6 separate regions of the Homo sapiens genome follow, and regions 1, 2, 3, 4 and 5 are each linked to region 6. The links are contacts of gene promoters, found by promoter capture Hi-C in blood cells and fetal thymus (Javierre and others, 2016). All regions are on one chromosome and are shown on one strand. The core of a region is centred on a gene start or on the middle of the fragment in contact, and the rest is flanking DNA. Distances in the headings are between cores, read along the strand shown.

The links. Contacts are between HindIII fragments. The CHiCAGO score rates a contact against its expected background, and 5 or more counts as called.
Region 1: a fragment that was not itself captured here is called in contact with the fragment with the promoter of CPQ in region 6 in 1 of 17 cell types (neutrophils); the score reaches 5.8 in neutrophils.
Region 2: a fragment that was not itself captured here is called in contact with the fragment with the promoter of CPQ in region 6 in 3 of 17 cell types (neutrophils, monocytes and total B cells); the score reaches 9.1 in neutrophils.
Region 3: a fragment that was not itself captured here is called in contact with the fragment with the promoter of CPQ in region 6 in 2 of 17 cell types (monocytes and neutrophils); the score reaches 10.9 in monocytes.
Region 4: a contact is called between a fragment that was not itself captured here and the fragment with the promoter of CPQ in region 6, in 2 of 17 cell types (monocytes and naive B cells). The highest score is 6.4, in monocytes.
Region 5: a fragment that was not itself captured here is called in contact with the fragment with the promoter of CPQ in region 6 in 2 of 17 cell types (monocytes and neutrophils); the score reaches 6.7 in monocytes.

Annotation. Positions count from the first base shown.
Region 1 is chr8:96,326,189-96,330,984 of GRCh38, reverse strand. PTDSS1 (phosphatidylserine synthase 1) reads right to left here. Exons shown (of 13, transcript NM_014754.3): 11 at 704-772. Among named protein-coding and RNA genes, the nearest start is that of PTDSS1, 67 kb to the right of the region's middle. RefSeq lists enhancers at 2,633-3,168, 3,169-3,704. The HindIII fragment of the contact is 603 bases long and covers 949-1,551 here.
Region 2 is chr8:96,976,252-96,981,104 of GRCh38, reverse strand. All of the region lies in intron 5 of CPQ (carboxypeptidase Q), which reads right to left. All of the region lies in intron 2 of LOC101927066 (a long non-coding RNA gene), which reads left to right. Among named protein-coding and RNA genes, the nearest start is that of TSPYL5, 300 kb to the left of the region's middle. The HindIII fragment of the contact is 1,215 bases long and covers 2,872-4,086 here.
Region 3 is chr8:96,993,089-96,997,414 of GRCh38, reverse strand. The region is part of intron 5 of CPQ (carboxypeptidase Q); the gene reads right to left. The region is part of intron 2 of LOC101927066 (a long non-coding RNA gene); the gene reads left to right. Among named protein-coding and RNA genes, the nearest start is that of TSPYL5, 280 kb to the left of the region's middle. The HindIII fragment of the contact is 4,247 bases long and covers 1-4,050 here.
Region 4 is chr8:97,123,830-97,128,546 of GRCh38, reverse strand. The region is part of intron 7 of CPQ (carboxypeptidase Q); the gene reads right to left. All of the region lies in intron 2 of LOC101927066 (a long non-coding RNA gene), which reads left to right. Among named protein-coding and RNA genes, the nearest start is that of TSPYL5, 150 kb to the left of the region's middle. The HindIII fragment of the contact is 1,553 bases long and covers 2,461-4,013 here.
Region 5 is chr8:96,957,769-96,962,425 of GRCh38, reverse strand. All of the region lies in intron 4 of CPQ (carboxypeptidase Q), which reads right to left. All of the region lies in intron 2 of LOC101927066 (a long non-coding RNA gene), which reads left to right. Among named protein-coding and RNA genes, the nearest start is that of CPQ, 310 kb to the right of the region's middle. The HindIII fragment of the contact is 589 bases long and covers 2,911-3,499 here.
Region 6 is chr8:96,643,211-96,648,125 of GRCh38, reverse strand. CPQ (carboxypeptidase Q) reads right to left here and starts at 2,884. Exons shown (of 8, transcript NM_016134.4): 1 at 2,724-2,884. RefSeq lists a silencer at 2,460-3,009. The HindIII fragment of the contact is 6,363 bases long and covers 1-4,378 here.

The sequences.
Region 1 (4,796 bases), core at 1-2,500, 320 kb after region 6:
CCCTGGGAGAAGTGGCAGGGCAAAAAGGCGAGCATGCTGCATCCCTGCCTCTCCCAGGCTGGGATCATCACTGGCAAGTGACAGAACCTCCCTGTGCTTATATTTCTCTGCTATAAAAACAAGGTTCTTTCCTCTCACAGGTGATGCAGAATCAATCTTCCACAACATGCCTTAAGTTCTTTAGACTGAAGGTGTAAATAAAGGATGAAAGTGTTATTTTTACCGAAAAAAATATTACCGTCTACCAGACGGCCATCGTGTCTTAAAGCCATTCATGTCTATTTTCTATGGTATCCTCATATCTACTAAATGAAGGTCAGGGCAAGCGTTTGCCCAGAAGAGCCACAGGCCGGAACACAGGAAGAGGCCTCCACACAGTTCAAGAGCTGGGGAGAAAACCCAGCTTCCAAAAGCCAGTCCACAGCTTTCCCATCACTTTTCTTTTTTTCTCCAAACAAACATAACTTTTTTTATCTAACAAAAGTTAGACAAAAATATTGGTCTACTGAACAGAGCCGTCACAAGCAGGGCCAGCAATGGCTAGGGAATGAGTTGTGACATGCGGTTTCTGCAGTGGCAGGACTGGAGGCCCCAACCTCAGTGTTTACCTCGCCATATCCTTACAGGCACGTGCTCTGAGCGAATTTGCCGAGCCCGGGGTGATTATTTTAAACAATGGCCATGCCTGCCTCTCCTTCCATACCTTTTCTCGGTGACCATAGTGTTCTGCATACCAAATCATGCCGTACAGACAGAGGAAAGTGGTGAAAGCCTGGAAGAGAAAAACAAATGATGCTGCACAAAAAAGTTCAATTTCCCAGAACTTCAGGGTTTCAGTGGGAATCAATGCAGGACCGTTCAATGCATTTCTGCCGTCTGGACGCCGGTTACAAAACGGCTGGACGTGGCAGAGATCAGACCTCAAGGGGAGGGTGCACACCCAAAGCTTCTGACAACAAAGGTTATGATGAGACCACAGTTACTACCTGTGACTCTACTATCAGAAAGCAAGAAAGACAATTTTCAGATGTGCAATATGGTGGGATGCATTTTCTTGATAGCTTTGCGGGTTCTGTTGAAGAAGATAGAGAGGATTCTATGTTCTAGTTCTGATTTTCAGGGTCCATTCTCTCCCGGCTTCCCCATCACAGGAGAGCGCTAAGAGGACTCAGTGTGTCAGCTTCTAGGGGGAAGAGGTCACAGCGGCACCTGAGGGCCCACGGACAAACACTCCCAGGGTAGAGGGTGGGGAGCTTAGCTGGACAGGGCTGCCCTTGCTTTTCCAGGCTTTTGAGTGGACCCCAGTTTTTATTGCTTTGTTTTTCTTGGTTATATGGATAGGAAAACAAAGAGAAAATAAAGATGCTCTTAAGGCCCTGAGTGGAATGAGGAGGGTGTGGCCTGTGGGTGCCCAGAGGCAGGGACAACCTCTACTCCACACTTGCCCCACTCACTGGGCCTGCCCCCACACCCTAAATTATACCCTAATTTAAGGAAAGAAAAGCACAGACAAGAATCCAAAGTTTCAAAACATGTCAAAAAATCAAAGCTTAGGAAAAGTCTCCAGCTGCCTGGACTGCATACCAAAGGCAGGAGGGAGGGAGGGTGAGCGGTAGAGCAGGGCCATGAATCTCCCCGGCCACACCTTCCCCACTGCAAGCAAAGCAACCAGAACAAAACAAGGCAACTGCCAGCTCCTTCCAAATTCCTCACTCTAGAAACCCATTCACATCAAGCCATCCTGGCTGTTGAGCCTCCATCTCTCCCCCTGCATTTCCTGTGGACACCTGGGCACCTGTCATTTTCCTGGACCCCTCTCATCTTGCACCAACTGTGGGGACAGCTGTGAGAGCATGGAGGGACCTTCTCAAGGAAATAATTTTAGTTCTAAGAATCATAACTTTAGATCCAAAAGGTCACCTCAGAGACCATTAATTTCATTGCCCCTCATTTTCCAGAAGAAGAATGAAAGCTCAGAGAGGTGAACATTGGAGCCGGAACTCAGATCTCTTGAAACCCCCGGATCTGGGTTTAAGGGATGGCTACTGATACAAATATTGGCTTTATGTCTATATAGCTTTATTTCTCCATCCATGTATCCATCCCTGAGAACGAAAAGCATCATGGGAACAGTGAACAGCAGCAGCTTCTCCTCTGCACAGCCACAGTCTGGTGGTAGGGCGGGAAGGCAGGGGCTGTGAATTCTCATCATGGCAGCTTGCAGTCGAGCTTTGGCCCAGTTCCTTTATCAGCGACATTTCCTGGCAGCTGCTGGATACACAGTGCCTTCTTAGTTCCAAAAAAGAAAGGAGAGCAACACTCTGGCTAGCTGTCCTCTTCCGTGCCAGTTACGTGGAAGCAGGAACAGTGGCAGCGTGGAGAGAGAGTGAGAAGCACAAGCAGCGCCACTGGTTCATTTCCTACTAAACCCACGTGCAAACTGGCATATACCTACAGGTTAGGGATTTATTAAAAAGCTCATATCCATCAAAAAATTAGGCCACGAATGAATACATTAAAACTACAAAGTGAAAATGACTTCCAACCTTTAACATACTCTAATGCTTGCCCAGATTTCTTAGATATACCAACGTTAAGTGTGCCATTTTCATGGCATGGAAAGAGTGGGAAGGACTAGAAATGATTTGCAGAGTGTAAGCCTGTGTATGCGTTAGGCCCCTTACAAAGAGCAAAACAGAACATTCTGGGTTTCACACAGCGGACTGGGGGGGTTAGGTTCCACCTCCCCAAACGAGAGGGCTGTGGGGAGGCGGGTCCCTCAACTAGACTGTCATTGCAAACTCTGACCACCAGAGGGCAGGCACGCGGGGCTCTTCCCTTCCCCAGCCCCAGGCCCAATATGACAGGCAGTGGCAGCTGCCGCTCCCTCCAGCGGCAAACAGCAGGCAAGTGGAGAACGACAGGTGCTTATCATCACAATCGTCACACAAAGGGTCTGTTGTGATTGCCAAATCTACTTCACCTGCGTACAAAGAGGCCCATTTTACACTTGTCCCAGCAAACGGAAGCCGGTAATTTACAGGTTTGCAATCACACCTGTGGAAATCTAGGCACGTACCCACTGAAAATGTCAAGGCTCAGATTTAAAATAGCAATTGCACACTTCGTTTAAAGAAAGGGCGGGGGGGCGAGAAGAAACTACGTGGGATGAGAGCCAGGCTGTCCAGGACCACGGGGCTGGCGGCAAGGAGGGCGCAGGACCCCAGCTTGGCTTCTACATTATGGTAATGAGCATTCAAATTAATGACGGCCGAGCAGACAACCACGCTCCTGGAAAAGCTTATTAACCAGCACCCGGGATCTTTGCTTCTGCATTAATCTCAAGCTCCGTGTGCGCTCTCTTACCAGGCCAGGGGAGTAATTAGGGGCTTTGCTTTTCTGAGTGGGGCAGAAGGCATGGTGTAACTTGAAGCTCTCTTATTGAATAATGTTCGCCTCTACTCCTGAGTCTGCGATCAATCTTGCTCTTTATAATAAAGGTCAGGAATATTTTAAAAAGTGCCAGGACCTTGTTTCTGTTCTTCTTTAAAGGGAGGCAGTGGAGACCCCTAATCATCCTGTCTCAGGGCCTCTTTTCGGGCGACGTCCCTCTCTCATGTCTCATCCTGTAAGTCTAATCAGAGATTCTGCCTGTCTTCAAAATCCTGCTCATCGTCCCCGGCCTGACCTCTTATTAAGGTATCCCAGCCTCAGTCAGCTCCTCTCCCAGAGGCATGTTCCCTGAGCTCTTAACCTAATCCCAGGACTCCAACTGCACCCTCCACATGGGCTCCTCCCAAGTATTTTATTTCCACCAACGACCAAATCCTTCCAGTGTTATTGACAGATTAGAATTTCCCATAAAACAGGACACTTCCACCTGTAAATTCTAAAGGTTCCTCAAACCCAAATCCCCTGAACCAAATTCACCTCCTCCTTTCAATGGGCTTCTCCTATATCCTCCAATCTGTCGCTAGCACTGGTGGCCACCCAGTGGCACCAGTTAGAACCTTTGGAGTGGCACTCAAGTCCCCTCCCAGCTACCACAAGAGGAATGGCATCCTGTTGAGCACATTCCTTAAACAACTCTCAGATCCAGCCCTTCCTCTGCATCTTCAATGCCTCTGCCTTGGTTCAGCTTCAGTTACTTGTCAACTAGGCCTGGCAGCACCTCTGACTGTACTTCTTCCCCCCAACCCATCTTCCCTCTAGACTCTCCCAGCCTCCATGGTGTTTCCCCATGAGACACAGATCAGACCACATTGTTTCCCCGCTTGAAAATTGCTGGGGCTGCAACTACAGCCGCACAAAGCCCTTCCTAAGCAGGGGACCCTGTCCTACTCTTCATCCAACTCTTCACTGTCACTCCTCAAACAGGTCACCACCTTCCTGAGCCACTGGGCACTCTCACAGCTTCCTGTCTTTGTATGTTTGCCCCCCAGCCACCTGCATGTCGCAAGTTTTTGTCTCTTGAACTCACTCCTTTATTCTCCACGAAGCTGCCGAGTGCTTCCTATGCACCAGGCACGGTGCTTGAGACAGTGGGGCCAAAAGATGACTTCAACTTATTCTCTCTGAGCAAGGAGTGCAGTGTGGAGGAGACAGATAGAAAAAAAACAAATTCCACTGCACTGGGGTTAGAACTGAGAGTTACGTACAAAGCACTACTGGTCCCAAGGAGGGAGCTATCTACTTGCCTTGGAGGTCAGAGCATATTTCATGGGGGTCATATGTTTAAGTTGGTTTTGGGGTATCAGTTTCATCATGTAGATAAGGCAGGGAAAGTCTTTCAGATC
Region 2 (4,853 bases), core at 2,230-4,729, 330 kb before region 6:
GTGTTTTCTCTGCCTTGATTTTTTTCTGTATCTCAAACAACTTATTTTGTAGTAAATTATATTGACCTTAACAGCTATTTACTGTTTCTACTATTCTTTTCCTCAGGAATATTATAAATTTTTCTCTACACACTGTTATTTAGGTTAAGGACATCACAGAGAGAGCAAAAGGGATGGGAAAAATGATCTGTGCATCCCCATGTCCTCAGAGTGTTAAGTCTGCATAACATTTATGACACATCTATTAAGTGCTCTTCACTACAACAGTGAGGAGAGAATTAGCCTTATACACTAGCCTCATGTATACTCATGGATGGTGGCTACACTGGGGTGAAGGTTTGTGAGTTAACTTATCCAGGCCAAACTCACATGTGGGCTTTATTATGAGGGCCTCCTCACTGTGAGGATTCCCCTGACCAAGCTGAACTTTGCAATGGGATACAGACATGAAGACTCGAGAGCTGAGAGTTGATACTGGGATTATAACCTCTCCTGGAACATCCAACCTGCTGTTTTGGCAATTAGAATCTGATAATAATAGTTACTATTATTGATGGCTTAGCAGGGGCCAGTTACTGTGTATATTATTTCAAATTATCCTATCAAGAACTGAAGATAAATTGTTCCCATTGTAAAAAGAGAAAACTGAGATTTAAAATGTTAAATAATTTAGGCTGGGCACGGTGGCTAATGCCTGTAATCCCAGCACTTTGGGAGGCCGAGGTGGGCAGATCACTTGAGACCAGGAGTTTGAGACCAGCCTGGCCAACAGGGTGAAACCCCGTCTCTACCAAAAATACAAAAATTAGTTGGGCATAGTGGTGTGTGCCTGAAATCCCAGCTACTCTGGAGGCTGAGGTACAAGAATCACTTGAACCCAGGAGGCGGAGGTTGCAGTGAGCCAAGATTGTGCCACTGCACTCCAGCCTGGGCAACAGAGCGAGACTCTGTTTCAAAATCTATATATAATGATAGAATGTTAAATAATTTGTCCAGGAAAATACAACTACTAGATAGCACAGAAGGATTGGAATCCAAGATGTTCTAACATAGAGCACATGCTTATTCTACTATCCATGCTGCCTCTCACTTACCTAGAGATTTTGAATTATTTAAGGATTAAGAAAGGAGGACTTAAAGGTTGAAAAATCAGTGAGATCTGGGTCACATGTAGTCTGAAAATGCTAGTGTCAGGCAAGCACATGGGCCAAGCATCAGCTCATCGATAATGATTATCTAATATGAGGAGGGCACGAGCAGGATTATAAATAAGTACTCTTATAATAATCAACTTCCCTCAATACTTTCTTTATCCTGTCACATACCCAGTAGAAACGTTCTTTTCCTAGTGCTTATTTTTGAGAATGTTTGCAGGAGTCGAGGAGCCTAAGAATAGACTAACTAAACCCTTACGTTCCACGGCAATTAAAAAAACCCAGTTAACCATAAAGGTCCGATCAGATGTTCATAGCATATTTTCTTATTTTTTGCAGACTTCTGTTTTTAGGCAAGTTTACTGGAACAAAATTCATTGGAAGCTGGGTAAACCACAGCTTTTGCAAAATGCAGCATTAGCATGATGCAGAGAAGCGTGTAGGCGAAGAACACAGCATCCCTGGAAACCCCATCACTTCCTCTTTGGTATATTTAACATAGAGAAGTAGAAGCTGGCTCATCCACCACAGCAAATAAAATTTGCTAAGCAACTCCAAAGCTGTAGTTCTCTAGGCTCAGTATAACTGGGATCTCCCTACTCTGTTTTTCTGTATCTCTATTCTATTTATCATAGTACTTTAGCAGTTAAAATAGTCAATGTGATATCCCTATTTTAGAAAGAAGTCCTATCATGCTTAAAATCCTCAGTGGTGCCTGCTGCCTATAGCACCAACTCCAACCTTTAGCTTTGCATCCAGTACCCTTCACAAACTCTCATCCTTCACTTTACTCGTTTCCCACCCCCTCCTCACTCACCCATTACTCTAGATTTATGAAGACATCTTCTACTCCTCAAACTATGTACTTTCATGAGTTCTAATTTGTTCTTTTTTTTTTTTACCACTTCCTAACTTTTCAAGGCCTGGTTTAAATGCCTCTATCCATGTGAAGCCATTGTTGCCTGACTATGAGCTCCTTGACGCAAGGAACTGTGTCCTGTCCATATTATTTGCCTGACATGAAGTGGGCAGTCAAAGCTTCTTATTGAAATAAGACGTCTCCTTGTGAGCCAAGTGTGTGATACAGTGATGATACCATTGCAATAAGGTAGCCTAGGTTTTCCAGACAGCCCTACCATGGATTTGTATGTATTCCATTCTTGGGTGGGAGGAAATCCACTGGGGCACTAAGGATACCATTAGTAAGATTTTCTATGGCCCTTATTCTCCAGGATAAATGATACCAATTTCTTAAGCTTCCGCTTCCTTTACAACCACATGCCTTCACTTTCTAAGGCCAAATCAAAGCATACATCGGGGAGGAAGCTAAGCATGCTGTAGAAAAGGGGGCCCTCTCATAGCATTCATCTGCCACCCTTCCAGACTGTCAGATAGAAAAGAACTGGTCATTATTATGCTGTATACCCTGGGTGGTGTCTACTTTTGCACAGAAATTGTATATTCTAACTAAATGATACAATAACAACAGCAATATTCATGTAGCCTAAGGCTCTAAAATGACTATGGAATCTCTCATACCAAATCCAGACTAAAAGGTAGACCACATTCTAAGTGACTCATTGTAAACAAATCTTGCTTTATCTCACAGATGTATTTTGCAAATCAATTTACACACAATTTGTCTTTTTACACATCCTAGTAGAAATGTCTATGTAAACTGATGAGACATAAGGTTGTTGAGTGTGTTAGTGAAGCTTCTAAATGTGTTCAAACCTTAGGAAAAGCTCTCAGCAATTCCCAGCAGAAAAAAAAATATGTATCTGCCATGGGTCTTACAGAAAAGCCATTCACTAACATAAGTTGCCGCTAGAGGAAATAACATATCAGAATAAAAAATGAGAAGATCATCTCTAAAGAAAAAGAGGAGGAGTCACAGATGCCCCATGGCCATAAACCTAGTTTTACATGTAATTAAAAAAAGGAAAGGAACAAATTCTTTTAAAAAATTTTTTTTTATTTCAATAGGTTTTTGGGGAACAGGTGGTGTTTGGTTACATGAGTAAGTTATTTAGTGGTAATTTCTGAGATTCTGGTGCACTCATCAACTGAGAAGTATACACTGCACCCAATGTGCAGTCTTTTATCCTTTGCTGTCCCCCATCCTTTCCCTTGAGTCCCCAAAGTCCAATGTATCATTCTTATGCATTTGCATCCTCATAGCTTAGCTCCCACATGTGGATGAGAACATACGATGTTTGATTTTCCATTCCTGAGTTAATTCATTTAGAATGATGGTCTGCAATTACATCCAGGTTGCTGTGAATGCCATTATTTTGTTCCTTTTTGTGGCTGAGTAATATTCCATGATATATATATACCCATCATTGATTGATGGTCATTTGGGCTGCTTCCATGGTTTTGCAATTGCAAATCATGCTGCTATAAACATGAGTGGGCAAGCATCTTTTTCATATACTGACTTCTTTTCCTCTGGGTAGATACCTAGTAGTGAGATGGCTGGATTAAATGTAGATCTGCTTTCAGTTCTTTAAAGATTATCCACACTGTTTTCCGCAGTGCTTGTACCAGTTTACATTCCCACCATCAGTGTAAAAGTGTTCCCTTTTTACTGCATCCCTGCCAACATCTATTTTTTTTTTTTTTTGATTACGGATATTCTTGCAGGTGTGAGGTGGTATTGCATTGTGTTTTTGATTTGCATTTCCCTCATTATTAGTGATGTTGAGCATTCTTCCATACGCTTGTTGGCCATTTGTATATCTTCTTTTGAGAATTGTCTATTCATGTCCTTAGCCCTTTTTTGATGGGATTATTTGTTATTCTCTTGCTTATTTGAGTTCTTAGATTCTGGATATTAGTCCTTTGTAAGATGTATAGATTGTAAAGATTTTCTCCCACTCTGTGGTTATCTGTTAACTCTGCTGATGATTTCTTTTGTTGTGCAGAAGCTTTTTAGTTTAATTGAGTCCCATATGTCTATCTTTGTTTTTGTTGCATTTGCTTTTGGGTTCCTGGTCATGAAGTCTTTGCCTAAGCCAATGTCTAGAAGACTTTTTCCAATTTTATCTTCTAGAATCTGTGTGGTTTCAGGTCTTAGATTTAAGTTTTTGTTCCATCTTGAGTTAATTTTTATGTAAGGTAAGAGATGAGGATCCAGTTTCATTCTCCTACATGTGGCTTGCCAATTATCCCAGCACCATTTATTGAATAGGCGTCTTTTCTCCACTTTATGTTTTTGTTTGCTTTGTCAAAGATCAGTTGGCTGTAAGTATTTGGCTTTATTTCTGGGTTCTTTCTTCTCTTCCATTGGTCTATATGCCTATTTTTATACCAGTACCATGCTGTTTTGGTGTCTAAGGCCTTATAGTTTAGTTTGAAGTAGGGTAATGTGATGCTTCCAGATTTGTTCTTTTTGCTTGGTCTTGCTTTGGCTATGCGGGCTCTTTTTTGGTTCCATATTAATTTTAGGATGTTTTTTCTACTTCTTGAAGAATGATGGTGGTATTTTGATGGGAATTGCAATGAATTTGTAGATTGCTTTTGGCAGTATGGTCATTTTCATAATATTGATGCTACCCATCCATGAGCATGGGATGTGTTTCCATTTGCTTGTGTCATCTATGATTTCTTTCAGCAGAGCTTTTTAGTTTTACTCGTAGAGGTCTTTCACGTCCTTGGTTAGGTATAATCCTAAGGTTTTTTTTTTTTTTTTTTTTT
Region 3 (4,326 bases), core at 678-3,177, 350 kb before region 6:
AGCTGAAATGAATAGGCTATGTTACACAGTCAGCAAAAATCTGAACTTGGCCAAAATCAGATGAAAATTAAATAATAGGACTTGAATCCTTTGGAGAAAAGTAAGATTTTCCTAGCTCTCTAGGGTCTGTGTATATCAAAACTTCGACTCTTCTAGCTAAAGTGAGTTTTCTAATAAACCAGTGGAACCAGTTTTATGAGCTTTAATCTACCAAGCTAAGAGGACTTTAATTGGTAGAGAAAAAACTAAAAGTGGACTTGTGAATGCTTTTGATCAAAATTGAGGTATCTCTGGGAGAAATTTTTCCCTTGAGGCTAAGAAAACATTTGAAGAGACTTTCCAAACAGAAGATCCCAGATGAAAGGCTGTAGTACAGAATTATGATGCAGTTATAAATTCTGATTCTTTCATGCCCTAGCAAGACTGGAGGGAGTGATGGGAGACCTGGGACTTTTCGAAAACAAGGCCACTGGCTCCTCCTGGTAGAACATTTCCAGATGCTTTGCCTACCTTATTCCACTAATAGCAAACTAACTGCTTTGCTCTAGTCAATAAACCAACCAAGGCTCTGGGGGAAATGGTAAAGTCTTTGAAAAGAATGATCATTCAGTAAACCTCCCCCAGTGTTATGACCTAATGATAATTCTTTGGGAGAAGCTGAAAACAGATATGAAAAAAATAGACAAATTGCATATATAAGCACAAGCAACTGGTTGAAAACAGGAACCAATTATAAAATAATTTGTAAAGGTACTGAATTAAAAATTAAGAACAATATTCATAAATATACTATGTACAGATACACATTTTGACTCCTAAAATATATTTCCCTAAAGACTCGTAAGATCAAACTAAATTCTAACTTAAATTTGTTAGGATAAAACAGATTTTGTACCCTCTTTACAGGTAACAACCTGTGAAAATAAAAGCTGAACCTTGGTACTTATTAAGCAGAGAATCATGAAATAATAAACACTTTGAAATGGGGAAGACTTTGGTGGTCATGTTATCTAAACCTTTCCTGGTCTGCAAATCCTTTGTGCAACTCTAGGACCAAAGGATCTTGTAGGCTGTGCTTTTAAAAAGCCTCTAGCCACCAGTTGACCCTTTCCTTTCCTTCACAGCCAAGCACCCTGAAGATTAATATTTCATGATCTATATGTTCTCTCTTCTCATTCTTACCTCTACCCTTGGTGACCTGAGAAGACTTCCACCTTCCCTACTCCACTGAATCTATTCTTACTAAAATCAGCAAAAGCCCTCAATTGCTGAATCTGTGGAAATCATTTCTGTTCTCATCTTCTTGATTTGTGCTTGACACTTAACACCATCGTCCACCCTGTTCTTTCTGGCTTTCTCTCCTTCCTCGCCTTCCTTCACATCACTTGCCTGCTTCTCTTCTATTTTTCTGGCAATTCCTTCTTGTCTTTCTCATATGTTTCTTTTCCTCTGCCCTTTAAAGTTCTGGTCTACTCTGAATACCTTCTCTAATTCATCTCCCAAATTTCCTTGGCTTCAGCTACCATCTAGAAAGTCACAAATCTTTTGACTTTTTAATAACAGCCATTCTGACTGGTGTGAGATGGTGGAAAGAGGGAGAGGATCCAGAAATACAACTAATGGGTACTAGGCTTAATACCTGGGTGATGAAATAATCTGTATAACAAACCCCCATGACACAAGTTTACCTGTGTAACAAACCTGTACTTGCACACCTAAACTTAAAATAGAAGTGTTTTTTTTTTAAAAAAAAAAAAACCTCACAAGTCTAAATTTCAGCTCAGATCTTTATCTGAGCCCCAATTCTAACTATTCAGCTGCTATCAGACCTTGCCATTTGGATTTCCCACCAGTCCCTCAAACTCAGCATAATCAAACCAAATGCATTACTTCCCCCACTTAAATTAGAATGCCAATTCCTCTGTTTACTCTTCTAGCAATCCATTCAAACTATATGCACTATTTTCCCCCACATAAATCAGCTTCTTCTGCATTTATTATTTTACATAACCATCCATCAAGATATTCAAGTCAGAAACCTAGGATTTTCTTAACAGTTCTCTCATATTCAGCCATTATAAAACAACAACCACCACAATTTCTTCACTATAATGATATTTCTTGAGCATTTACTATATTTTAGGCCCTCTTATAAACTTTATAAATTTTTATCTCATTTAATTTTCACAACAATCTTATAAGTATTATTATAATTCCCATTTAACAGAGTTGTAAGTTGAGGCAGAGATTAGTTGGTAAATTCCCAAGTTAAAATACCCAACAAGTGATAGAGCTGGTGTTCAAACCTGGATAGTCTGACGTAAGAGCCTAAGGGTCTTAACCAGTATGCTAGTTATCAAGACCTGTATGATTTAGTTCTTCAACCTCTTTCGAGTATGCCTCCTCTGCTCCATCCTCATAGCTATTGCCTTGTTTAGGCTCCCATCATTCACTAGATTCGACTCTAAGTTTCATGAATGCCAAGGTCATAAATGCCTCTGTTGACCAATGTCCCACACAATGATTAGCACTTAGCATATCCTGAATAAGTGTTTTTTGATGAAATAAAGTATTTTTATCATGTTATTAATAGGTCGATGTCCATATAATTTAGTGTCCAAGCAGGGAACATGTTGAGATTGAAACGGGGTACTATCAAAAATTACTCTAGGTCAACAGGAATAAATTGGGACTGTCCCAGACAAACTGGGGCATGTCATCACCTAATAATTGGGCTACTTCTATATGCCAGGTTCTTTTTTTTGGCAATTTGACACCATTTTCTCCTTCTACGCTCTCCTTAGTATTATAGGGATTGGAAGCATGAGAACTACATTTCTTAGAATCTCTGCCAGCAGGGTTATGGTTTAAATTAAGACAATTAGACTCATTCATGCAAGGTTTCAAAGACAAAAGATAAATAGAACTATTATTACTCTTTTGAGACAGGCAGTCACATGGACTTGGGTAGACCCCAGATGTGAGCTTTTGCTAACAGCTTCCAAGTATCTTCCTACTGACCACTCACTTTGGTGCTGTAGACAGCTGAGATCATTGGTGACAGTTTCCTGCAGTTCCTATGCTTTATGATTTTCTGCATACTAGTAGTTGCAACCTGATCTTCCCTCTCTCAATCCTTCCAACATTTTTCCAGGCCCTAGTATTTTTACAGTAACTAACCCTAGCTGTCTCAATAGACAAAACTCTGAAATTTCTGTGGCTTATCCCAGTAAAAGGTGACTTTTTGTTCATGCAAAATCCCGTGCAGATTGGCAAGAGATCTCCTCTATCTGGTGACTCAGACGACCAAGATTCATCCATATTTTTATTTTCTATTTCAACATATAGCTCCAAGGTTTATTCCAGGGAAAGTGAGGGTTGAAAGAGGCACACAAGCTCTTAACCAGTTAGGCCCTGGGATATTAATTCTTCCCTCCCCTTCACAGTCCTTCAGCCAGGACTATCACAGGGTCCCAATTAACAGCAAGAGAGAACGGGAGAACAATATAGTGTTTGGTAAACATTAATTCTTTCTGTTATAGAATCTATTTCCCTAAATTAAATCACTTCCTGCTTGAAATAACTAGTTTCTCTTCTCCTTGTTGATACACTATGAAATAATACATAATTATGATACCTGAATGTATTAACTTGATGAAGCACTAATCATTTTTTTACACCAATATATTGTTTGTACACCAATATATTGTAAATATTGGTTTTGCTATGTATGCATCTAAGCATAATATCGTGTATAAAATTTGACATACAGGCTTAGTGTTTAGCTCATCTACCTACTGATAGATATTATTTGAATTAGCAGATTCAATAGTAAAGACATTAGGATTCATATCCTTAACAAAGAAAATAAAACTTTGTGATATGAAGCCTATTCATACATATATCTAATTATTTTAAAATGATCCATATTTAGTGAGTAATAATGCTTTTAAAATTTACAGAAATATGGAACTACCACCCATTAGACCTATAAAGACCAGGACCCACATCATTATTTTTGTATACAACATGCCTGATGATGCATAAGCTTGTACTAAAAGTGAGCAAGAATGAATGTGAAACAGGACATTGACTCTTGAATTTGGTAATCACTATATTTTATATAAAGCTATTAGCTTCTGTTCAGCTCTTATTCAAGAAGCAAATAATGCATACACAAACCCATTCAGGCAACACAATATCTTAAAAACAGTTTCCAAGTGGCAGAGTTAGACTAATGCAAATTAAACATGATTATAGATATTAATGCACCATATATACTACGCTAGACCTTCATCCTTTCCATTTGAAGGTGTTTTTAATGAA
Region 4 (4,717 bases), core at 1,988-4,487, 480 kb before region 6:
CACCTGGCTAATTTTTGTATTTTTAGTAGAAACGAGGTTTCACCGAGTTGGCCAGGCTGGTCTTGAACTCCTAACCTCAGGTGATCCACCTGCCTTGGCCTCCCAAAGTGCTGGGATTACAGGCTTGAGCCACTGTGCCTGGCCAAGGAGAAAGTTTTAAGCAAAGGACTATGACAGTTGCACCAAGCACCCACCCTTAAGGAGGCCCAAATAGGAGAGCTAGGACTTACACACCAGGAGCAAAACATGAGATCCAAAGTTAGAGCTCAGAAGACAGAAAGGTCAGTTCCTATTGTGATGCCCAATCAGATCAAAACAACCCATGCTAATTTCCTAATTCTCTGAGTGACTAAAGGAATTCATAGTGCTGCAAAACCTTGGGAAAGAGCTAGAGAACAGTAAGTGCTAATATTGCTTCTATCATGAACAACAAAATAGCTGCTTCTTTTTATGCAAAATTTGAATAGAATAGAAAATACTCATTCTAAGTGTATATTTGACAAGTTTTGGCGAATGAACACACCTGTGTGACTACTACAGCAATAAGACACAGAACATTTCCATCACTCCTAAAAATTCACTCATGGTCCTTTTCAGTCCATTCCTTCCCACCCCCGTCTCGGGCAACCATTGGTTTGATTCCTGTCACTATTGATTAGGCTTGCCTTTCCTATACTTTTGCCTGAAAGGAATCATACAGTGTGATCTCTTGTGTCTGGCTTCTTTTGCTCAGCATAATGATTTGGGAATTCATCCACATTATTGCATAGTTTGTTTGTTTTGGACATTTTAGTGAATGTTAGCAATGTCTTGTCTTGGTTTTAATTTGTATTTCTTTTTCTTTTTTTCATTTTTTTTGGGATGGAGTCTTGCTCTGTCACCCACGCTGGAGTGCAGTGGCGAAATCTCGGCTTACTGCAGCCTTCACTTCCCAGGTTCAAGTAATTCCCGTGCCTCAGCCTCCTGAGTAGCTGGGACTACAGGTGCGTGCCACCACGCCTGGCTAATTTTTGTATTTTTTGTAGAGATGGGGGTTTCACCATGTTGGCCAGGCTGGTCTCAAACTCCTGACCTCAAGTGATCTGCTGGCCTTGGCCTCCCAAAGTGTTGGGAGCCACCACACCTAGCCTTAATTTGTATTTCAATGATGACTAATGATCTCAAGCACCTTTTCATGTACTTACTGGGGATTGGTGTATCTTGTTTGTGAAATGTTTGTTAAAATATTTTGCTCATTTTTTCTTGTTAGTCTCCTTTTAATTGAGTTGTGAGAGTTACAAGTCCTTTGTCAGACGTATGTATTGTATTTTCTCCTCTGTGGCTTGCCTTTCATTTTCTTAATGATATCTTCCAAAGAGTGGAAATTTTACTTACGATGATGTCCAACTTATCAATTTCTTTAAATGGTTAGTTCCTTTAGTAATCTAAGAAATCTTTACCTAACCTGAGGTCAAAAGATTTTTCTCCTATATTTTCTTCTATAATTATCATAGTTTAAGATTTTACATTTAGGTTTATGATCCATTTTGAGTTAATTTTTGTGCAGGGTATGAGATAAGGGCTAAGGTTCATTTTTTTCCCCTTAAGGATATCTGTTTTAACACTATTTGTTGTAAAGACTATCCTTTTCCCGTTGAATAACCTTGTACTTTTGTAAAAAATTAAGTGACCATATACGCATAGACCTATTCTATTCCACTGATCTGTCTATTCTTATGCCAATATGCCAATACCACATGACTTTGATTATTGTAGATGAAAGTTTTTGAAATCAGAGTAAGTCCTCAAATTTTTTTTCTCCTTTTCAAAATTTTTCTTTCATTTATTTAAGTCTGCTTAAAAATCTCCTAAATTTTACATGTATTTTATTAAAATTATTCTTGAGTATTTCATGTTCTTTGATGTTATTTTTTAAAATATTATTTGCTAGTTTTTAGTATACAGACATAAACTTTAATTTTGTATATTGTGACCTTGCTAAGTTTACTTCTTGCTTCTAGCAGCATATGTTTGTAGTTTTCTTAGGATTTTCTATGTACTGTGAAAGTTATCAGAATAAAAATGAAGGCATAAATGTTATGAAAACCCAAACAAATACAGCTAGGGAAGGTCACGAAGAGAGGGTTCTCATGCTTGCATGCCTGATAACAAAAAAGACCGCTAAAACCACAACTTTGCACAGAGACCATCAAGACTTTGCATAAAACTTACTTCTGTAAGTACATCTGCCCAGCAGCTACCTGTCCAACCTCAGAAGGTGTCACTCTTGCTATTTTTTATTATTATTTTTTTAAATTATAGGGTTAGTGGGTACAAGTGCAGAAGACGTGTATATATTGTGCAGTTGTGAGGTCTGGGCTTTTAGCGTACCCATCGCACCCTTCTTATTGATCTTTGTAGTCAAGGATAATTATTTTAAAACAATTATGTAATCTTCCTCATTTTTTCCTTGAAAAAGCTTTGTCTTCCTTTACCTCCCTGAATACACACATAGTTAACTACAGCCTAGGTATTTCCATTGCAAAGCTCTATTCCCAGATAAACATCTTTCTTTCACAGAGCCCCTCTCTTTTAGTTATTTAGGTTGACAGTACACAATTCTGTTGTTTATTCATAATAATAATTTTACTACTTCCTTTGCAATCTGTAATCTTTGATTTCTTTATCTTGTCTAATTATACTAGTTGGTACTTGCAATATGATGTTTAAATAGAAGTGGTGAGAACGGGAATCTTTGTCTTATTCCCCATCGTAGTAGGAAAGCATTCACTCTTTCATAATTAAACTGAAGATTTGACATCACTGCCTTTTAACAGGTCGAGGAAGCTGTCACTATTCCTAATTTTCCAAAAGTCATTATTATGAATGGGTGTTGAATTTTGTGCAATGCTTTTTATGCACCTCCTGAAATGATCATACTCTTTCCTTTATTATGTTAATGTGGTAAATTATATTGATCGATTTAAAAATATTAAACCAACCTTAAATTTCTAAGATAAATGCCACTTGAACATAGTATATTATCCAGTTTACATATGGCTGAATTTAATTTGCTTATATTTTGTTAAGAATTTTTGTGTCTATATTTATGAAGGATATTGGTCTATAGTTTTCTTACCATATCTTTGGTTTTGATATCAGTGTCATACACGCCTTATAAAATGAGTTGGGAAGTATTTACCTCTTTCTCTGTTTTCTTAAAGTTTGCATAGTCATGTTATTATTTATCCTTTAAATGGTTCACAGAATTAATTAGGGAACTACCTGGGCCTGGGGTTTTCTTTGAGTAAAGGCTTTTACTTATGAATTCAATTCATTTAATTTATAGGAGTATTTAGGTTTTTTATTTCTTCTTGAATCAGTATTAGCAATTTGTCTTTTAAGGAATTTATGCATGTCATCTGCGTTGTTGAATTTTTTGTATATGTTTGTTCATTAGAGTCCTTTAGTGCCCTTTTAATGACGTATGTGTAGTCATGTGTCCTGTTTCACACCTGAGATTGCCAGTTTGCATCTTCTCTTTTTTCTTGACCAGCTTGATAGTTTATCAGTTTTATAGCTTTGTTTCAAAAAGTCCGTTTTAAAATTCATTGATTTTCTCTATTATTTATTATTTTCTATTTCATTGATTTCTACTTTTTTCTACGTACTTAAGGTTAGTATTTTTGTTGTTGTTGTTAGCTTCTTAATGTGGAAGCTAGATCACTGATTTTAGAACTTTCTTCTTTTCTAACATAAGCATTTAACCTACACATTTCCATCTAAGCACTGCTTTAGCTTCATCCCATACACTGGGATATATTGTGTTTTTATTATCAATAAGGTTCAAATAAATTCTAATTTCCTGGTGATTTCTTCTTTGATCTATGGCTTATTTAGAAGTGTGATATTTAATTTCCAAGTATTTGGGAATTTTCTTGATATCTTAATGCTTTTGACTTCTTACCCAATTCCATGGTGGTCAACAAACAGACCTCATATAATTTTAATCCTTTTAAATTTGTTGAGAAGCTTTTATAACCCAGCATATAGTCTATCATGGTGAATACCCCATGTGCACTTAAAAAGAATGTACACCCTGCTGTTGTTGAATGCAGTGTTCTGTAATATCAATTTGATCAAGTTGATTGATAGTATTGTTTGAATCTTCCATATCCAGACTTTCCAGCTACTTGTTCTAACAACTGCTGAGAAGTGTTGAAATTTCCAGCCACAACTATAGATGTGTGTATTCTTTCAATTCTGTCAGTTTTTTCTTCATGTAGTTTTCAAAGCTTGTAATTGAATGAATTTACTTTTTTTTTTTTTTTTTTTTTTTTTTGAGACGGAGTCTTGCTCTGTCGCCCAGGCTGGAGTGCAATGGTGCAATCTCGGCTCACTGCAACCTCCACCTCCCCAGCTCAAACGATTCTCCTGCCTCAGCCTCCAGAGCAGCTGGGATTACAGGTGTCCACCACCAAGTCCATCTAATTTTTGTTTTTCTTTAGTAGAGATGGGGTTTCACCATGTTGGCCAGGCTGGTCTCAAACTCCTGACCTTGTTGTGATCTGCCCACCTCGGCGAGTGAATTTACTTTTAAGATCACTGTGTCTTATTGATGAATAGATTATTTTACCATTATAAAATGTCCCTCCTCCTCTCTAATAATGTTCTCTATTTTGAAGCCAACTTTTTCAGATAGTACAATTATGACAGCCTTCACGTATACAGAATTTGC
Region 5 (4,657 bases), core at 1,956-4,455, 310 kb before region 6:
CAGAGAAGTGGGCACCTGCCCATCTACCCCTTGTGTTCTGCATCCTGAGGCACTCAAGGCACTGACCAATTCCTTTCCCCCAACTTCCTTTTCACCATCATCTTTTCCAAATGCAGTATAGAGTAAAAAGTTACTCTGAAAACAACAACAGCAGTAGCAGCTGTAACAAAACAACTAGAAAGGCAGAATGGGAACTCTAGTTCTTTGAAATGTAGGGTTTGTTATTTGCGAGGCAGACTAAATTAGCCCTGACTACCTTGGGAATGAGGGCCTTGGGAATAGGGGAAGAATACACCGCAGTCGAACAGAAATGCACTGGATGAAAGCCTGCTAGGAGAAGGAACCAGAATGACAACGGCATACATCCACCTGCAGGCCAGCTGTAGGTCTGAGAGTGGAGATGGACGAAATCAAAGATGTGCAGACAGCAGCCTGAGGACAAGCCCCTCTGTTACTGGTGCATATGAAGACACTGAGTCCAAATGGATCCACCTGATTATGAGATGAAAATGAGACATATGAAAAATATGGCAGGACTAGGGAGAGGAAATAGCCTCAGAGGATGTGCATTCTTAGGAAAATGAGCTAATGCAAGATACTGAAGAACATTTCACCCTCTCTGGCATTCAGTCATGGTTTCCTTCAACAATTTTTATTGAGTTCCCACTATGTGCTAGAGATACCGAAATGAGTAAAACAAGCAAATATTCTAGCCTTAATTGAATTTAGATTCTGGTGGGAAGATGGAAAATAAATAAACACAATATAATGATAGTTTTAAGTGCAACAGAGAAAAATATCTTTATATCTTCAGTGTGGAGATTTTAAAAATAGAATAAAAATTCAAAGCATGAATAGTAGATGTATAAATTTAACTATCATAAAATGAAGGCTTTATGTTCATCAAGAGAAATCATAGAATGAGAGGAGTTGCTAGAAATTAGAAGAAGACATTTACAATATATATAACTCAAAATGATTTATATTCAAAATGGGTAAAGAATTCTTACAAATCAATAAAAAAGCCAAGCAACCCAAAAAGCAAATAGGCAAAACACATAAAGAGGCATTTCACAGAAAAGAAATTATGAATGACAGCAAGCATTTGAAAAGGTGACCAATTTCATTACCAATCAGGGAAATGTAAATGTAAATTAAATCCTTAATAAGATACCACTTTACAACTATCTGGCAAAAAATTTAAAATCACACAAATGAGATCTTGGCAAGGAGGCTGAGCAATAGGAATTCTTATCCACTCCTGGTAGAAGCAGAAAATTGTTAAAATAATTAAGGGAAAACAATTGGACATATCCTTATAAAGTTGAACATATGGGCATTCCACAATCCAACAATTCCACTCTTGGTGTAAACATTAGAGGAATTCTAATACCAGGAGACATGGACCAAAACGGTCATACAGACACATTCAGAAGTTCTCAAACTGAAAACACACAAATGTCCATCATCAGTAGAATCGATACATTGTGGAATAGTCATACAATGGACTATTACAAAGTAGTAAAGTGAACTGAAAATGACCTAGTGATGCATTATTAAATATAAATGAATCTCAAAACAAAAATAGGCAACAAAAAACAAAAACCCAAAAAAGACAAAAGAAGTAGAAGATTATGATTCTATAATATAAATTTCAACTAAACTAAATAATATAATCTTCAGTAATAATATATACAAAGATGGTATAACTATGAAGAAAAGCAAAGCAATGGTATACCAAAGTTAGCATTGTGTTTATGTCAAATGGGGGTTAGGGCAGAGAGGAGGAGGTGATCAGGTACGGGAACACAGTGACCTTCAAAGACACTGATAGTGTTCTGTTTCTGCAACTCAGTGGTGAGAACATGTGTAATCCTTCCATTACTATTCTCTAGATTGAACATAGATAAATAAAGTCTTCCATATGTGTGATATGTTAAACTATAGCAAGAATTATCAAAAACCTACCTTTGGAAGTCAAGGGGCTCAGACAGTTTTACAAGTGAGTTCAACCAAACATTAGATGTCAGATTGATCTTGTTCTATTTCAACTGTTCTAAAGCAAAGAAAAAGTATAGAAAATATCTACATTTACTTACAAAGCTATCACAATCTTGATATTAAAACCTGACAAAGATAGTGTCCTCCTTATAAACTAACTAGAGATCAAATATAATTGTAAAAATCTGCAATAATTGAATCCAGAAGCATATTAAAAAGTATTAAAATAATGGCCCAGTCATCTTCAAAGGCCCTTGGTAACTAGAAGCCATAATACATCCAATATACTAAGAAAGGGCCACTTTTGAGTCATACTTATTTTCTTGGCATGCTTAGCTTTTAACTCCCTTCATTAAAAATTATGTGAGTTGTATAGATATTCATCTAAACCTGACCACATTCATGTTGGTCAATTGTCAGTAAACAACAGGCCCATCTGACAATAAAGTATGCTTCATTTTACAAATATCTTGCTCAATCAAAAACCAGAAAGACAGCTACTCGGTGTTTTTGGTTTTTTTTTTTTTTTTTTTGCTTTTGTGATTTTTTAAAAATTGCAGCAGCTGTCTTCTCCTAGTCTTAATTTTACTTGGTGTCTTTTAAAAGGTAGCAGGAAAAGTCTTAGGGGTACAAAGTTTGAGGCCTAATGCATTTCCAGACACAGGAAATCCCCAAATTTTCAACAACAAAAATCATTAAATGGTTGAAAAAATATGATGTACCAAAAAAGGAGAAAAAAAAATAACTCATTATTTAGCCTTAGAGAAGAGGCCAAGGAGTGACCTAATAATGGGCTTCAGCTAAGACAGGTCCCACTGTGAAGAATATGAACAGCAAAAGAAAGTGCAAAGGAAGCCAGGCTTGGACTGCAGCAGTGAGCGTTAGGGTCATATAAGCGAGCAAGAAGCTTCTGATGCAGGCTTTTGTTGAAGTTAAAAAAAATGACTAACAGGGGAAAGGTTATGAAAAATTTCCTGCCTTGGAGATTTTCTAAAATAGACTACATTCTGAGGCCTTAGACAGAAAGCTAAAAGAGAAGGGATAAATAAAACCTTCCAAGGTTCCATCTAATACGATATTCCATGCCAGTTTTCAAGAATTCCTCTTCTATTCTAATCATTTTAAAGGAGGTAATGGTCTTTCAAAAAGTCTCTATAATCTCAACAGACTTTTCCCTGAGCACCTCTTTTCTGGCTGTCAAGCATCTTCCTAAAATTTAAAATCTAAACACAGGTGGGCAGGCACTTCTCAAGAAATCCATGTTTTCATAATCCCCACTGGAGACAAAGCCTTGGCTTTCAGAGGGTGGTTGCTGAATGTATTGTGCTATTGCCCAGCACAGACAAAAGGGACTATGTTTGAACAAATATTTTCCTCCCCAATGATTCTGACTAGGTGGTCTACAGAATAAAGCTAAGCTCTTGACATACAGGGTGTGTTCAGAGGCAACACAGCAAACATGTGGGTTCCTCTTGAATTGATTTCTTATCTTCAAGCTTTTTTTTTTTTTTTCAGTGAAGCTGTTGGGTGTTAGCTTGTAGGATACAGAATCCTTTCCCACAAAAATGGGCCATCTGTTCAAATGCTCATGGATCACCCAGCTGGTCCTGAAAAGAGCTGTTTCCACTCTCAGACTATCCCCTCTTACTTGTAAAGGACACTCAGATTAGACTCACAAAAAGGAGATCATGCCTATTCCTGGTTGCATGCTGTGAGCATGTTACTAGACTGATAGCTCAGGATAAAACAAGAAGGACCTAATTTATCTGCGGCGCATGAAAACCAAGCACTAGGTAGATTTATAAAATGTGATTGCAGTGGATTTGCAAGAAATGGCTGGAATTGATTAAACATTGATTTGACAATGATAGGGGAACAGCAGAGAATGTCTATGGAAGGAAACCATTCTCATGAAATGGAGGCAACTGGGTTGCATCCAGAAGTCATGATTTGATGCAACTGGAGATGATCTTAAGTAGAAGAACCATGTATTTGAATTCCTCCTCTATTTAGCCTCAGCAACCACAGTATAAGTTGTCTCATTTGAGAGGACAGGAAGAGTAGAAGAGCTGAATTACAACATTGTATTTGAACTTCCTGAGGTAAGGGAAAAGACACAGAGAGTTTAGGTAACTTCTATGTTAATATTGATCATCTTTCCCATAATCAAATCCAAGCATGGTACAGTGCACAGCTAAAACTTCTCATTCCTTACAACTATTCACTTACCATTATGTCCCAGGCCTTTGTCATGCTAAGTGGGTGGGATTTTAGAAAAGAAGAAGGCCGAGCATGGTGGCTCACACATGTAATCTGAGCACTTTGGGAAGTCAAGGAGGGAGGATCAATTGAGGCCAGGAGTTCAAGACCAGCCTGTACAATGTAGTGAGAACTCATCTCTATTGAAAAAAAAAAATAGCCGGGTGTAGTGGTGCACGTCTATAGTCCCAGCTACTGGAGAGGGGAAGGTGGACTGAGGTAGGAGGATACTTGAGTCCAGAAGACTGTGGCTACAGTGAGCCATGAACACACCACTACACTCCAGTATGTACCACAGAGCCAGATCCTGTCTCCAAAAAAAAAAAAGCATTTGGTACCCTACAGACTTTTTTTTTTTTGTTTTTTTGAGACACAGTTTCACTCAGTCACCCAGGCC
Region 6 (4,915 bases), core at 1,635-4,134:
TTATTTTATGGGCCTCTCTTTTCGTCTTTTGCTCTCTTCAATTAATTATAAGGGTTCTGGAAACCCATCCTGCATTCTTGTCTCTGGATTACACAGATGTAGGCATTGTTCTTTGTCTATACTAGGGGTTGTTGGTCTTATAAAGAAAGAGGTTGGGAGGCAGTGCCTTACCAAGGGCACAAAGCTAGTCCAAGAAACAACACTGCTTAGCACTCATGGTTCAAAGCCCTTAAGTGCCATTCACTGATGGCAGCTGTCGATGTCACTCATTTTATATTCCCTAAATTGGTAAGTCTGAACACATTTAAAATTAAGATGCATGGGCACCTAGGTCAAAGTATCAGAGTCTCCTGGAATCTCAATGGAATTCAATAATTTTCAAAATGATAAAACAACCAACTCCCCTATAATTCAGTCTTCATCATTTCACCCTGTGCTCTCATTCTAAATTCATTTACCCAAATAACCCAGGGTTTGTATATATGCTTGAACACACACAGAGACCACATTCTTCAAAGTCACACAGTTTTTCCTGGCAGGATTGTCTTGTTTCTGGGAGAAACCCTGTTTCCATCTGCTTGAGTTTTGAGTCCTAACTCTCCCATTTTCCATGTACTGTTTCTAGTTAAGAAGATCAAATAGGACTTACCATAGTATCTAGCTCTTAGATATATAGTGATGATTAAATGGGGCAATATAAGTAAAAAGGTTAAATATAACAGTGCCTGGTGTATGGTCAGTGCCCCATAAATATCAGCTTTGTAACATTCCATGCCTGTATGACACATGACCTCATTGGGAAAACAGTGTGAGAAAGTTGGCCCTTTTCACCAAGCAACATGTGTATTCCACTTCTCCTTATAAACTTGAATTCACTGAAGTAGGTAACATTAATTTCATTTTACTTAACACATTTGGAACTTTGTGTTTGTTAAATGTAGCATGCAAAAATATTTAAATATGTATGTATAATGACTTTTGAAGTGCCTTTAAAAAATCTCCAAGGTCCTTCCAGCTCCAAAATGTGATCTATGATAACTAATCTCAAATGCATGCGAAGAAATAGTGATGCAGTTCCCCAGATATACTGGGAATATATGGCATTGTCAGACTGGGTTGCACTGGAAAAAAGTCAGACCCAGGACCAGGAGCCTGTGACAATGTAGAAGAAAATCTTACCCTCCTTTCTCCCCACCAGCCTAGGGTTTATTACACTTATCTTGAGCTCCCAGGCTTTCTTGTTGCAGATGTGGAGAAGAAAGGAAATGAGCTGTAAACAGCAAAGAAGAGAGCAGAGACAAAATGCTATGGGAGGTGAAGTAAGCAGAACTCCATGAAATCATCTGTAATTTCACCTTCTAACCCTGATACAAAAGAATCCCAGAGGTTTAACTCAGGCAGGGTTCCTAGCTAAACATCTTCATTTTGGAGATTAAGAAATTAAAACCTAAAGAGATCAAGTGGCAAGTCCAAGGTCATCCAGCTCTTCTGGAACCTGGACCTGGCAAGTAAGAACGGCTGCAGTGACCAACTGTATTAAAGCTATGTGCTAAGCCTATTTGTTTACAAACAGATAAGCGTCTTTCTGGGCCTTATGTAGCCTTCTTCAGTCACCTGCAAATCAGCCAGCACCTGTCTCAGGAAAACAGACAAGATTCTTAACAACTCTGAATTCAAAAGAAAAGCCTGGTTTTACAAACAAGTCAGAGTCATATGGTTCTGCCTTCAGAGTCACCCTTATCTTTAAGAAATACATGAAATAATATTATAGTGACAATGATTCTTTAAACGTCCAAAGTAGAAGTGAACAAAACACAAGCAAGAAAAAACCTAGGCATATTTTGTTTTAAGCAAACACATATAGCCAAGTCCAACAAAAATGGAAATACCAGGGGGCGTTTCCAGAGACCATTTGAACAGCATAGAACTCTTTTTAAGTGGTCCCAATCAGAATGCCTCCATTTGCAAAAGTGCGACATTCACACAACTTTTTGGAAAGCTATCAAAAAACAGGAGTTGTAAGCCTGCGTCTCCACTGCTTCCACTTCATACATCTTTATTTTCACTCATGCACTGATTGATTCAGCTGTATCTCGTATGCACTCATTTATTCACTTACTCATTTGTTAATTCACTCAGTTCTACGGCATAGGTACTCATTCAATTACTTATTGAGTAGCTCTGAGTCCTAAGTCAGATGGGACTTTGCCCTCATGGAACTTCGATTCTAGGAGAGTCCAGTAGCAGAAACTAGACGCATCAAAAGCGAAAGTACACGGTAAAATGCGAAAGGAACCCCAAAAGAACTGCATAAGGCATATTGGAGGCTCAGGGGGACCAGGATTGTTTGCAGATGGGGGATGAAGGGGGCGGCTTGGGGCTGAGCCCTGGAGCTGAGGGGAAGTGAAACCGTGTTGGGAAGGACGGCTGAGGGCCGTGCTCGCTGCTGTCCCGCAGCACCCTCCACCACCCCCACGTCACAGCTTCCCCATTTCTAGGCTCGGTGACTCCACTGTCACCGAAGGGGCAGCCACAGGCTCCCAACCCGCCGCTCCCCAGCCAGGTCCTCCCGTCACGCCCCCGAATGAGCGATGCTGGAAGTCCGTCCCCCTCTGCCCCCGCCCCTGGCCTGCTCCAGCCTCAGCCCGCCCGACCCCCGCGGGTAGGAGCCAAGGCCTCGGCCCAGCCGCCCGCGGGCACTGCCAGTTCGGCTGCAAACACACCTGATAGGGCGGCTCTGACGGCGGCGACGGAGGCGGCTCCCAGGACTAAGCTCGCGGCCTAGCCTTACGGTGGCGGCGGCCACACCCCTGACTGGGCTGGGGCCCTCCGCGCCGCCCCGTGACTGCAGCCCTGCTTGCCGGCCAGGCCGCGGGGCCGAGAGGCGGGGCAAAGACCTGACTCGGGAAGCCGGGGCGGGCGCCGGGTTCGGGCTGGGGGCCACCTCCGGAACGCCTGGGGGGTTCTCACTCGCCCTCCAAGGGCGACCTCAGGGCCACAGATCGGCCGGAAGGCTTCTCAGCTTCTGGGCTGTGGCTCCTGTTAGAAAATTGAGTGTCGCCCTGGGTCCCGAGCCCCTAGGCCTGACTCCTTCGTGCAGGGGCGTCGCCTTCAGACTGGGTGGTGCGCAGGCCAGGGCCGCGTGCTTTTCAGAAGCGCAGCCTCAGGCGAGGCGGGCGGCAGGGGCCTGAGAAGGCTCATGGCTTGGCAGAAGGGTCCTGTGCTTCAGTGGGTGCCCGTGCAGGTGGAGAAGGACGGGGCTGCGAAGCTGAAAGGAAAACGTGAAAGGTTTTTGTGTGTCTCTGAGCCTGAGTAAAGGCCATGCTTTCTGAGCTGTCAAACGCCTCCCAAAGGGAAGAGATTATTAAACCGTTTTCCCACCCTGCCAGGTGTAGGATTGTTAGGCGGTGATGATGGAAGGCAGAGATGACCCGAACTGAGAGATCAGAAAAAGCGTTTTCTCTTTCGTTTGTGCCTGAATTATATGAGGGTGCCCAAGAAGAAAGGAGACTCATCTGATTACCCGGTGTGGCTTATCTCAACAAGTCACACGCATTCTGGTCACAGAGTATGTGCTCAGTGTTTTCAATGCTTTATGTTTTGATAAGTGCAAATTCCTTTGTTTAACGAAACTCTTATCAAATACAAACAGTTATCTTTGTGAAACACTGAGCAGTTCCAGTCTCTCCTCTTAACTAAAAAAACCAAACAGAACTTTTAATTAGAAAAGAAAAGAAAGAATAAGCACATGCCTACTGGGAAAAAAAAAATACCATAAAATGTGCAAAGTCCACTCACCTTCGGTTAACAGTCCCTCTAAACCTTACTAGTCCTGTTGCCCACTGAAACAAGTGTGAACTCTGAGGCATTGGAGGGTCCACATAAACATGGCCCTGGCCCACCTTTCCCGAATCATCTCTCGGATGCCATATCTAACCCCACTGAATTACTTTTTTCTCAAACTATCAAGGGTAAAAGACAAGTTTTTATTATTTCCAATCTGACATGGACCATTATTTCTGTAAAATACAAATCAAAACCTGCTAGCAAATAAGAAAAGAGACAAAAACTACAAGCCCAGTTTTTATTACAAGTGTACAATGAGTATGCCAAAAAGTATAAAATTAGTTTTTCAATTATTGGTTGTTGTTGTTGTTTTTATTTCTAAATGCTTACTCACAATTTCTATACTTACCTGTTCATGGAGCAGTAAAAAGCTGTTCACTGACTGGCGGTGGTTGGATTACCGTTTAAGTGGCACTGACTTGCTGTTCTTTAATTATGTCAAATGCTTTTCAACTTCTGGGCCTTTTCTCATGTTTAATGTGAACGAAGTTCTTTCCCACTCAAGTTTCAACTCGTAATAACAATAAAAGCTTCACATTTATTGAGTGCCTTGTGCTAAGATTTTTGATGCATTAACTGTGAATTCTTATTTGTCCTATGAGCTACCTATTATTATCATTATTATTTCCCCCCACTGTACAGATAAGGAGATGGAGGATTAGAGAGGTCAAGTCACAAAACCAGTGAGGTACAAAGTCAGCATTAAACTGAGCTGGCCTGATTCTGGAGCCCAAGCAATCAACCAACATGCTGGGCCCCTCTCTGTGAAACCTCCCCCATTTGCTTTCAAGTTGAAATTAATCACTCTTGCTTACACCTCTACTCTAACATTTTTTCCCGTTGGTTTTCATTCATGTCAGCTTCCCACGCTAGGCTTTAAGCTTCTGAGTACAGTGAATTTGTCTGCTCACACTAATCACAGGAAGCAGAGCTCATTCGCATCTTTGCATTACCACTATCTTTTATGCTTACTTCATGATATGTTTTAATTATTTATTCTTGTCAGCATCCTCTACTAAACCATACAATGTTCAGAGTTATCTTACCAAAGATGCTTTTATTTATTTAA